Linked DNA regions of Homo sapiens: region 2 is linked to region 1. The links are contacts of gene promoters, found by promoter capture Hi-C in blood cells and fetal thymus (Javierre and others, 2016). All regions are on one chromosome and are shown on one strand. Each heading gives the region's core, a stretch centred on a gene start or on the middle of the fragment in contact. The rest is flanking DNA. Distances are from core to core; before and after follow the strand shown. Region 1 holds the start of UCK2 (uridine-cytidine kinase 2). Region 2 holds the start of MPZL1 (myelin protein zero like 1).

The links. The method cuts DNA at HindIII sites, captures the fragments that hold promoters and counts their contacts. A CHiCAGO score of 5 or more calls a contact.
Region 2: the fragment with the promoter of MPZL1 here is called in contact with the fragment with the promoter of UCK2 in region 1 in 1 of 17 cell types (fetal thymus); the score reaches 6.3 in fetal thymus.

The regions. Positions count from the first base shown.
Region 1 is chr1:165,824,916-165,829,326 of GRCh38, reverse strand. UCK2 (uridine-cytidine kinase 2) reads right to left here and starts at 1,713. Exons shown (of 7, transcript NM_012474.5): 1 at 1,395-1,713. The coding sequence starts at 1,493. RefSeq lists silencers at 825-1,054, 1,115-1,594, 1,675-1,924 and an enhancer at 806-1,359. The HindIII fragment of the contact is 2,018 bases long and covers 1-1,997 here.
Region 2 is chr1:167,720,386-167,724,499 of GRCh38, reverse strand. MPZL1 (myelin protein zero like 1) reads right to left here and starts at 2,518. Exons shown (of 6, transcript NM_003953.6): 1 at 2,258-2,518. The coding sequence starts at 2,348. RefSeq lists silencers at 1,879-2,018, 2,049-2,118, 2,509-2,878 and an enhancer at 1,690-2,190. The HindIII fragment of the contact is 2,037 bases long and covers 1,482-3,518 here.

The DNA.
Region 1 (4,411 bases), core at 464-2,963:
GTTTTGCTTTGAATTACTAGTATAAGTCATAGTAAAGAACATACTCAAAAATTACAAATTTTTTTAAAAGCCTTCAACCAGGGAGCACACAGAACAGAAACTTCAGGACCTAAAGCAGGCCGATTCCTAACCCCGGGAGCTACGGACGAGATCAACTTCATCAATAAAGAAGTCCAGCAGCGCCAGCCGCCGTGTCTGGCTGGGCTCCTTGCGCTAAAGTAGTCCAGACCAGGAGGGAAAAATGTAAAACCAACATGGAGGAGGGGCTACTGACGAGTCGGTTCGGGAGCTAAAACCTCGTGGCTCTTTCCTCATGGCGCCAACCAGCCTTCCTGCTCTGCTCTCCCCAGCCGGGAGAAGCATCATCCTGCCTCTCCAAACCAGCACCCAGCACCCAGCTCTCAGGATCCCTTGAGGAACCCGTGCTCCAAATGAAGTTGGAGGGTGTTAAACGGTGGGAAAAACAAGTAGCCACATCTTAAAGGCTGTTAGGGGAGCAAAGAAAGAACCATCTGGGAGGACTCCACCCTTCTCCACCTGCAGAAAAAACCCCGGGTAAAGCTAGGAAGTCATTTCCCTTGTCTCTCCTTGCCTTGCGGATAAAACAAAGGAAACAGGCTCCTAAGAGGGTCAGACACCCATACGATGACCCCCTTCCGTGGATCCAAGACGCGTACGTCCTGGACACCGAAGAGCTTGGAGCCAGTACAACTTTCTCATTGAAGCCGACCACGTTTCCTCTTATAACCTTAAAAAACAGAAGCCCCTACTATTATCGTTTCATTGATGTCACGGCACCTATTTGGCTCTCAGACTTTTACCCGGAAACCCCTGTAATCCCCAGCCCTTGCGTGCAGCCCCACACTGGGCTCCCCTTCCCCGGGATGCCGCCTCGCGCGTTCCCGCCACCCTCGCCCTCTCGGCCGCGCTTCCCGGCTCGCTCCGCCCTCGGCACCAGGCTGCGCCGCGGGGCGAGCACGTCTGTGCCAGACCGGGGCTTGAGGGAGTCCATCGGGGGTTAGTGGGGGATCCTGCGGAAAGCCCTCTCCCCCGACACTGGAGTTGCAAAACAATAAGCATCCGCTTCCCTGCCCTTCCCCCATAGGACCCCGGCCACGAGTTATTAACGCGGGGGGAGAAAAGCCGGAGGAGCACTCCCGCCCTGCGATCGTGGCCGCGTACCCCCGGAACCCCCAAGGCCCGAGTCTTCGCCTGCCCCCGCCGCAGCGCCCCCAGGCCGCGCGGGGCGCACTCGGCGCTGGAGCGCGGCCGGGAGCGGAGGCGCGCGGGCCACGCGGTGGCTGCCGCAACTGACACGGCCCGCGGCCGCCGGCCACATGCGCCGCCCAGGGACAGAAGCCGGGAAGGGAGCGCGGCTCCGGGCCCCGCCGTACCTTGCCGCTAGCTGTTCCCCCGCTGACGCCTATAAGGAAGGGCTCGCCGCCGTTGGGCTGCTGGTGGTTCTGCAGGGTCTGCTCGCTGTCCCCGGCCATGGTTCGCGCCGCCCCTCCTCCCGCTGCCTGTGCGAACGGACGCACGCTCCCCGCCCGCGCCCGCGTCGGACTCCCTCCGCTTTCCGCAGCCGCCGCTGGGCGCTGCCGGGGCTGAGGCCGCTGTCGCTCGCCTGCGAGCCGCTCGGAGCCCGGTGACGGGGCTGGGTTTCCCGAAGGAGCCAAGAGCCTTCCTTTGCCCGCAGCGGCTGGTCCGGTTTACATCCCAGGCAGAGGTCAGCGTGATGCTGCTGCTCCAATCCGGGCGGGCAGCGCGCTGCTATTCGCCGAGGCGGAGGCGGCGAGGCGTCTGGCCCCAGCCTCCGCCCCTCCCGGGCCCCGCCGCCGCCCGAGGTCTCTGCGAAAGGTGTGAGCCCGACCTTCCCTCCCACCCGCCCGGTTAACCCTTTCTCCGACGCGCCCTAGTGGACCCTGGGGGAAAGAAACAGGCTGTTCTGTATTTTAATTTGGTATGCTACCACCTATTTTCAGAAGGGATAAAAAGCTTGAAGGAAATAATAGGCAGATTAGATAAGAAGGAATGGCCCAGGTTTGAGAAGCAAAATTTGAACAAGCTTGAAAGATTAGTGTGGAACGAAGAGTTAATGTCATTTACCCATTATCCAGGCTAAAAACTTGTGTTTCCAAAAAATGAGGGTTCTTTTTCCCTTCTCCCGTTCGCCAAGATAATATGTCAGCCGCTGGCTTTAGATATTTCCTGTCTTGGAAACCCCCCAGCGCCATCCTTTTTAGCAGGCCTGTCCTCGTGCGACTCTCTAGTGAAGGGCAATTTGAGGGGCTTATCTGAAGGGTGCCCTCCGTTGGAAAAGCAATTCCCTTCTAAACCACAGTATCTCATCCCATACACTGAGCTTCCTATGGAGTTAGGGTATCTGAAAACATACTGACATTTTGATCCATTAATATCTTCAATTGAACGGTTTTCCAGAGATTGGCAATCAGTCACTTAGAAAGGCAGTTTCAGACTCCACCTCTGGAGCCAGATTTCTGCATTCACATCCAGGTCCCTGAGCAAGTTACTTAATCTCTCTGTGCTTCAGTGTTCTTATCTGTTAAATGGGAATAATAATGGCAATTACATCCCAGGATTTTTGTGAGAATTAAATGAATTAGTGTATGTAAAGTTCTCAGAACAGTGCTGGTACAGTCTAGGCCCTGTATTAGTGTTTGAAGAGAAAAGGTTTCTAAAGCGCTGAAACTGGAAAGAAAAGTTTTGCTGGGACACACCTGAGAGAGGCAGGACTAGCCTAGTAACTTCCAGTCTCTTCTCCTGTGAACTTGGGACTAGTATCAATGAGCTGATGGGGCCTACAATCTAAAACAGAATTTACGTCAATAGCATTATCTTTTGAAACTTAGTAAATTACCTTAAATTGAAGATTATTTTGAAAAAAATAATTTTCTCTCAAGCCAGGGAAATCGAGGCTGCAGTGAGCCATGATCTCCCCACTGCACTCCAGCCTGGTCAGCAGAGCCAGAGCCTGTGTCAAAAAACAAAAACAAAAACAAAACAAAACAAAAAAAAGGATACCAGAGAAAACAAACTTTTTTCACTTTTAAATTAAAGTTGACACTTGAACAACACTGGTTCAAACTGTGAGGTTCACTTTTATGCAGCTTTTTTTTTAAACCAAGGGCAGATGGAAAACACAATATTTGTGCAGTTTCCTCAGGACTGACTGTGGGACTTCATGTGTGGATTTGGTTACATGTAGGCTGTCCTGGGACCAGTCCCTCCGCATATATCTAGGAATTACTGTATTTTATGTCACCATCTAACATCAAACTCGGTAGCAGCTCAGACAGGAGACAAAGATGGGGAGAGTGGCCACTACCTGGTACCCAGAAGCAGGCATTTGGGTGAAGTTTCCTAAAGGGGTGCCTTACCAAATAGCTATGGAGTGGGTGAGTTTTAGGTGGTCCTAGAGTTAGCCTCTTCTCCAAAAGGTCTTTTCTCTACTAGATAGATTTATTAGTCATCATGGACTTTTGTAGAACTCTTTATAGCCCATTGGAATTTGGAAGTTGAACCTACAGCTAAGGGTTAGCATGGGGATATTAGGTAGTTAAGGAGAAGAGGAGGAGGATAAAGGAATGCCAAAGGCCAGTGGGGTGGCTCATGCCTGTAATCCCAACATTTTGGGAGGCAGAAGAGTGAGGATCACTTGAGGCTAGGAGTTTGAGACCAGCCTGGGCAACATAATGAGACCCCCATCTCCACAAAAAGTACAAAAATTAACTGGGCATGGTAGTGCACACCTGTAGTCCCAGCTACACCAGAGGCTGAGGCAGGAGGATCACTTGAGCCCAGGAGTTCGAGGTTGCAGCTGTGATCATGCCATTGCACTCCTCTATCGACTTGTCTCTTAAAAAAAAAAAAAGAATGCCATGTCTTTCATAAACTTTTCTCAAATCTGCATCTTCCTTGTCATTCCTATAGTGTTTATTCCATAATATTTTATCATAAAAATTTTCGAGCACAGTTGAAAGATTTTACAGCAAACACCAGTATACCCACCACCTAGACTCTATCACTAACATCGTACTATATATATACTTGCTTTAAAACATAACTGGTCATCTACCCATCCCTCTATCCATCAAGGCATTTTTATTATAGGACTTACTTCCTTTTGCTTTGTTAATTTTAATTGACTTACTCCACACTGGCTTATACATTTCTTGTTTGGTTTGTTTTGTTTTGTTTTTAATTACTATATCCCCAACGCCTGGAACGGTTCTGGCACCTTGTAGGGCCTCAACAAATGAAAAGAGATAATGTCTCATTTCTACATCCCCCAGGCCCACTGAGCAGAATGATAAGCAAGTAGGAAGCATTTAATACATGATAAATGAATGAACAAATGAATGAATATGGAAGTAAGGACACCAACAAGTAA
Region 2 (4,114 bases), core at 1,269-3,768, 1.9 Mb before region 1:
TCTCTTCATAGCCCAATGCTTGAATTCAGATCTTCATCATCCTCCCCGGGATTATTACAATAGTCCTCTGCCTTCTCTGGCTTCAGCCTCACCCCACTCTAACCCATCCTTCACATCTCAATAGACAGAGAAATCCTCATTGGATTAAGTGTGGCAGACAAGGCCCTTTGTAAGCTGGTGCCCTTGGCAGGCTCTCCTGCCTCAACTCCCACCATTCCCCTTATATACACTCCAACCTCCCACTATACTGAACTACCAACAGGTTCATTCATAACTCTGTATGTACTTCTGCCCCTCCCCCATGCCTACCCAGTTTAAACTCCCTTCCTCCAGTAGCCTGAACTACAGTCTGAGATAATGACCCTCCTTCAAGCTCCCACAGTACATCTTTACCAATGTGCTTCTGACCCTACACAGTGGCACACACCTGTAGCCCCAGCTGCTTGCGAGGAAAAGGCAGAGGAATCACTGGAGCCCAGGAGTTTCAGTTCCAGAGCAGCCTGGGCAACACAGTGAGACCTAACCTCCCACCTTTTAAGTGTTAAGCACTTAAAAGGTGCTCAGTGAATGTTTGCTGAGTAACTGTCTTGATAAAACTTTAGAAGCTATCCTGTAAAAGATAAACTCTTATGTGCAGTATCCATGACCAGAAAAGAGGTGATTTGGCAAGAATTTTAGATTCAATAATTTTCTAAGTTGAACCAATAACATCAGCTGCTGATTTTTACATATCAACATTCATCTTCATTACTGAAGAGTTACGTCCAAGTTGTATGGGGCTATTACTCTAGTGATCTTTTCACTACTATGTAGTTTTGCACTCCTTCTACGTTTAATACCCTGATTTTAATTAAGATCACCCTAACTGCTTTGTCCTCCATAGCAATGTCTGACCTCTCATGCATAACAATTCTGTCTGAAGCATATTTCTGATAAACCTTAATTTTAGGCTATTTTCTACTTGTTTGATTAAACACAAATACCACCACCAACAAACACACTTTTAACCTTTTTTTCTAAGACAAAATACAGAATGGATTGTGTCTTACACAAAGTGTGTCATCATCTGTCAACCCCTGGAGGGTAGGGAGACTTTTACATTTATGCTTTACAGCCCCTGGAATCACTGTTTAAGTGGAACAGTTGGTGATCCAACAGAACTTCACCTAGTTTCCCTGATCCAAGGATTATATTAAGAACTTTTCCATGAAGAAAGAAATTACTGAGTAAACTCTGGTATTCAGATACTGTGATGCTAAATCATAACTGACATTTTGAAAACAAAGGGAATGAAAAAAATCTACGTGGTTTCTTAGCAGCTGGCCCTCTTTATAACTATTATTTAACTAAATTCGGAGACAGCAACAAGTACTTTGCTTTGAACAACAACACAGAAAAGTCCTGTGGCAGATACCACTTCAGATGTCCATAAAACAAGTCATCCAATTCCCATAAATTGAGCCCGAGGTTTACCTTAAGCTTGAGTCACAATATTTGGTAAGAAAAAGGAGCTTTTTTTTTCCTTTAGGAAAATTATGCTTTTTAATGCTCTATGTCTTGTCAAATTATGGTGGCTACGTCTGGAATTATGATGGATTTGACCAAATTCTTTTAAGCCAGGCCATCTCACTGGTATTCCAAGCTCTTTGCATTCTAACCTAGAAGTAACAATATTTTTTTATTGGCGTTTTGCAGACCACGGAAATGAGACTCTTTTATTACGGAGACTTAAAACTGAATGAGAGCATGGGAAAGGGAACTTACAACAAAACCCTGGCTTAACAGGAAACAAATCAACAAAGGCCCTACAAATGAAAAACCTGCAACTTTCCGCCACCTCCCAAAGGTGAAGAACGCCAGAACCCTAGTTCCTGAGTCAGAATCCGGGAGGGCCTAGACGATCCAGAGTCACCACGAGGAGAGGGCAGGGTGCGCCGCGAGGGCTCACCGCAGCCGCCCGCCGGGTCCGCTCCCCTGGACCGCCCCCCGGGAAGGAGCAAGGTAAAGCACTCTCCCCTCCTCCTCCGCACTCCAGGATCCAGGAAAGAGAAGAAAGAGGCTCTGCGCCTTCCCGGCCAGTCGCGGAGGCCCGCGTTCCCCATGGGCTGGGTCCCCTCGGCCCCAGAGAGCGCAGGCCGCGCCCCCTCCCCACCTCGGCTCTCAGTGCGCGCGCCTGGCCTGCGACCGCCGCGATGGGCGTGTGTCGGGCCCGGGGGCCCCACTCCCCGGCCCCAGCCCTGGTCCTGGCATCACTTACAGAGCCCAAGCGCCGCCGCCAGCACCGACCACAGCCAGCGCCGGCTGTCTGGGGCTGCAATCACCGCCCCGGCTCCGGCGGACGCTGCCATCGTCCAGCCACTGCAGTCGCCGCCGCCGCCGCCGCGTCCCTGAGCCCGGGTCCCCGCTGAGGTTGGCTCGGCTTGGGGAAGAGGCTTCTGATCTCTCCGCCACCCGCGCCGGGTGGCACCTCCACGCCGCGCTCCCCACTCCGGTCCCAGCCGCGGCTCTCCAGCTCTGCACCGAAGCCTCAGCCCCACTCCGGCCCTCGCTGTCCGCTCATTGGCCTGCCCGCACCCTTTTAAGGACGCGATTGGAGAGTCAGGCTGTCCATCATCCGTCCGCCGGGAAGGCCCCGCCTCCTCGGTCCCACCCAGGCGCCTCGGCCCCGCGCGGAGGCCGGGTCTGCAGCGGTCCCAGGCCGAGCCGAGCCTTCCGCCTGCCTGCGTGGCTGTCCGCCTGCGGGCCCCACCAGCCAGCGTCTCCTCTGCCTTTCTCAGGGTCCAGTCCCGTGGTCCTCTTCATTGTCTCTCCTCGCCACAGGTCTTTGCTGGGTACTAACCTCGCCTCCGTTTCAGCTCTTCTTGTTCTCTGCCGGCCTCACCTAACGAAAAAGAAGCAATTCATTTACCTTAAAAAGAAAGAAAAGACAGAAAGAAAAATAATGAGGCGTTCAATTGATGGGGGAGAGACTTCTGATTCAGTCGTCCAGGTGGAACACGTTCCCCGTGCCGTGTCCCCAAGGCCTGTCCTTTGCGTGGACTAGATAATGTATGTGTTGCAATTTGCGAAATCTACTAGTTTAAAAAGAAGTCTCCATCTTGCCCTAACCTCCTCTTAGGAACCTCCCTCCTGGCTTCAGAAGGATGGGAATCTGGAACTCTTTCCTACTACCTGAAAAACAAATGAAAATGCTTTTTGATTGTTTTGCTTTCGCATATCTGTGTTCCTGTCTGTGTCCGTGAAAAATAGAAAGCAGAAGTTCCCAACACTGATTCTGAAGTGCCCTGCAGAAGTTCCCGACACTGATTGCTGGCCCTGCTCAACTTGGTTGCCTTGGCCCAGAACAGTCTGCCACCTACGGGTTGTCCAATCAATAGGGGAAATATTTGGAAGGATCCTTATGAAAATGGCTTACAAAAGGGAAAAATGGGGGACAGGGGCACAAGAAAGATGAGTGTGAAGGAGGAAAAGGGAAGATTCAGGTGGGAGGCTGATACGATGAGGAAGGGAAGCAAGCTTTAGACAATTAGGACAAGAGCGGGGGAAGAGTATGGTGAGAACCCAAAATGTAACCTCTCACTTCAGGGTTTTTGTCTAAGGTCAGTCTTAACAATGCCATTCCTGATATCTGTGCTGTTTCAGCTAACATTGCAGTACAGCGAAATCATAAGAACATTAGTGAGAAAAAAACTTAAAAAAAAAAAATACCAGAACCACTTTGCCCTATTTCTGTCAGCAGATCCTTTTGAAGTTGTATCTCAAATGCCATAGGTTGGAAAAGATACCAATGCATTAATTGAACCATGGATGTAGAACACCTGGGCTTTACTCTCAAGAAGCACATCGTCTACTAGTGTACACAAACAAGTACTCAATTACATTTGTAAAAATGAGGGCCGGGTGCGGTGGCTCACACTTGTAATCCCAGCACTTCGGGAGGCCGAGGCGGGCAGATCACGAGGTCAGGAGTTTGAGACCAGCCTGGCCAGCGTAGTGAAACCCCATCTCTACTAAAAGATACAAAAAAATTAGCCGGGCATGGGTGGCGCGTGACTGTACCCAGCTACTCGGGTGGCTGAGGCAGGAGAATCGCTTGAACTGAGAGAAGAGAGAC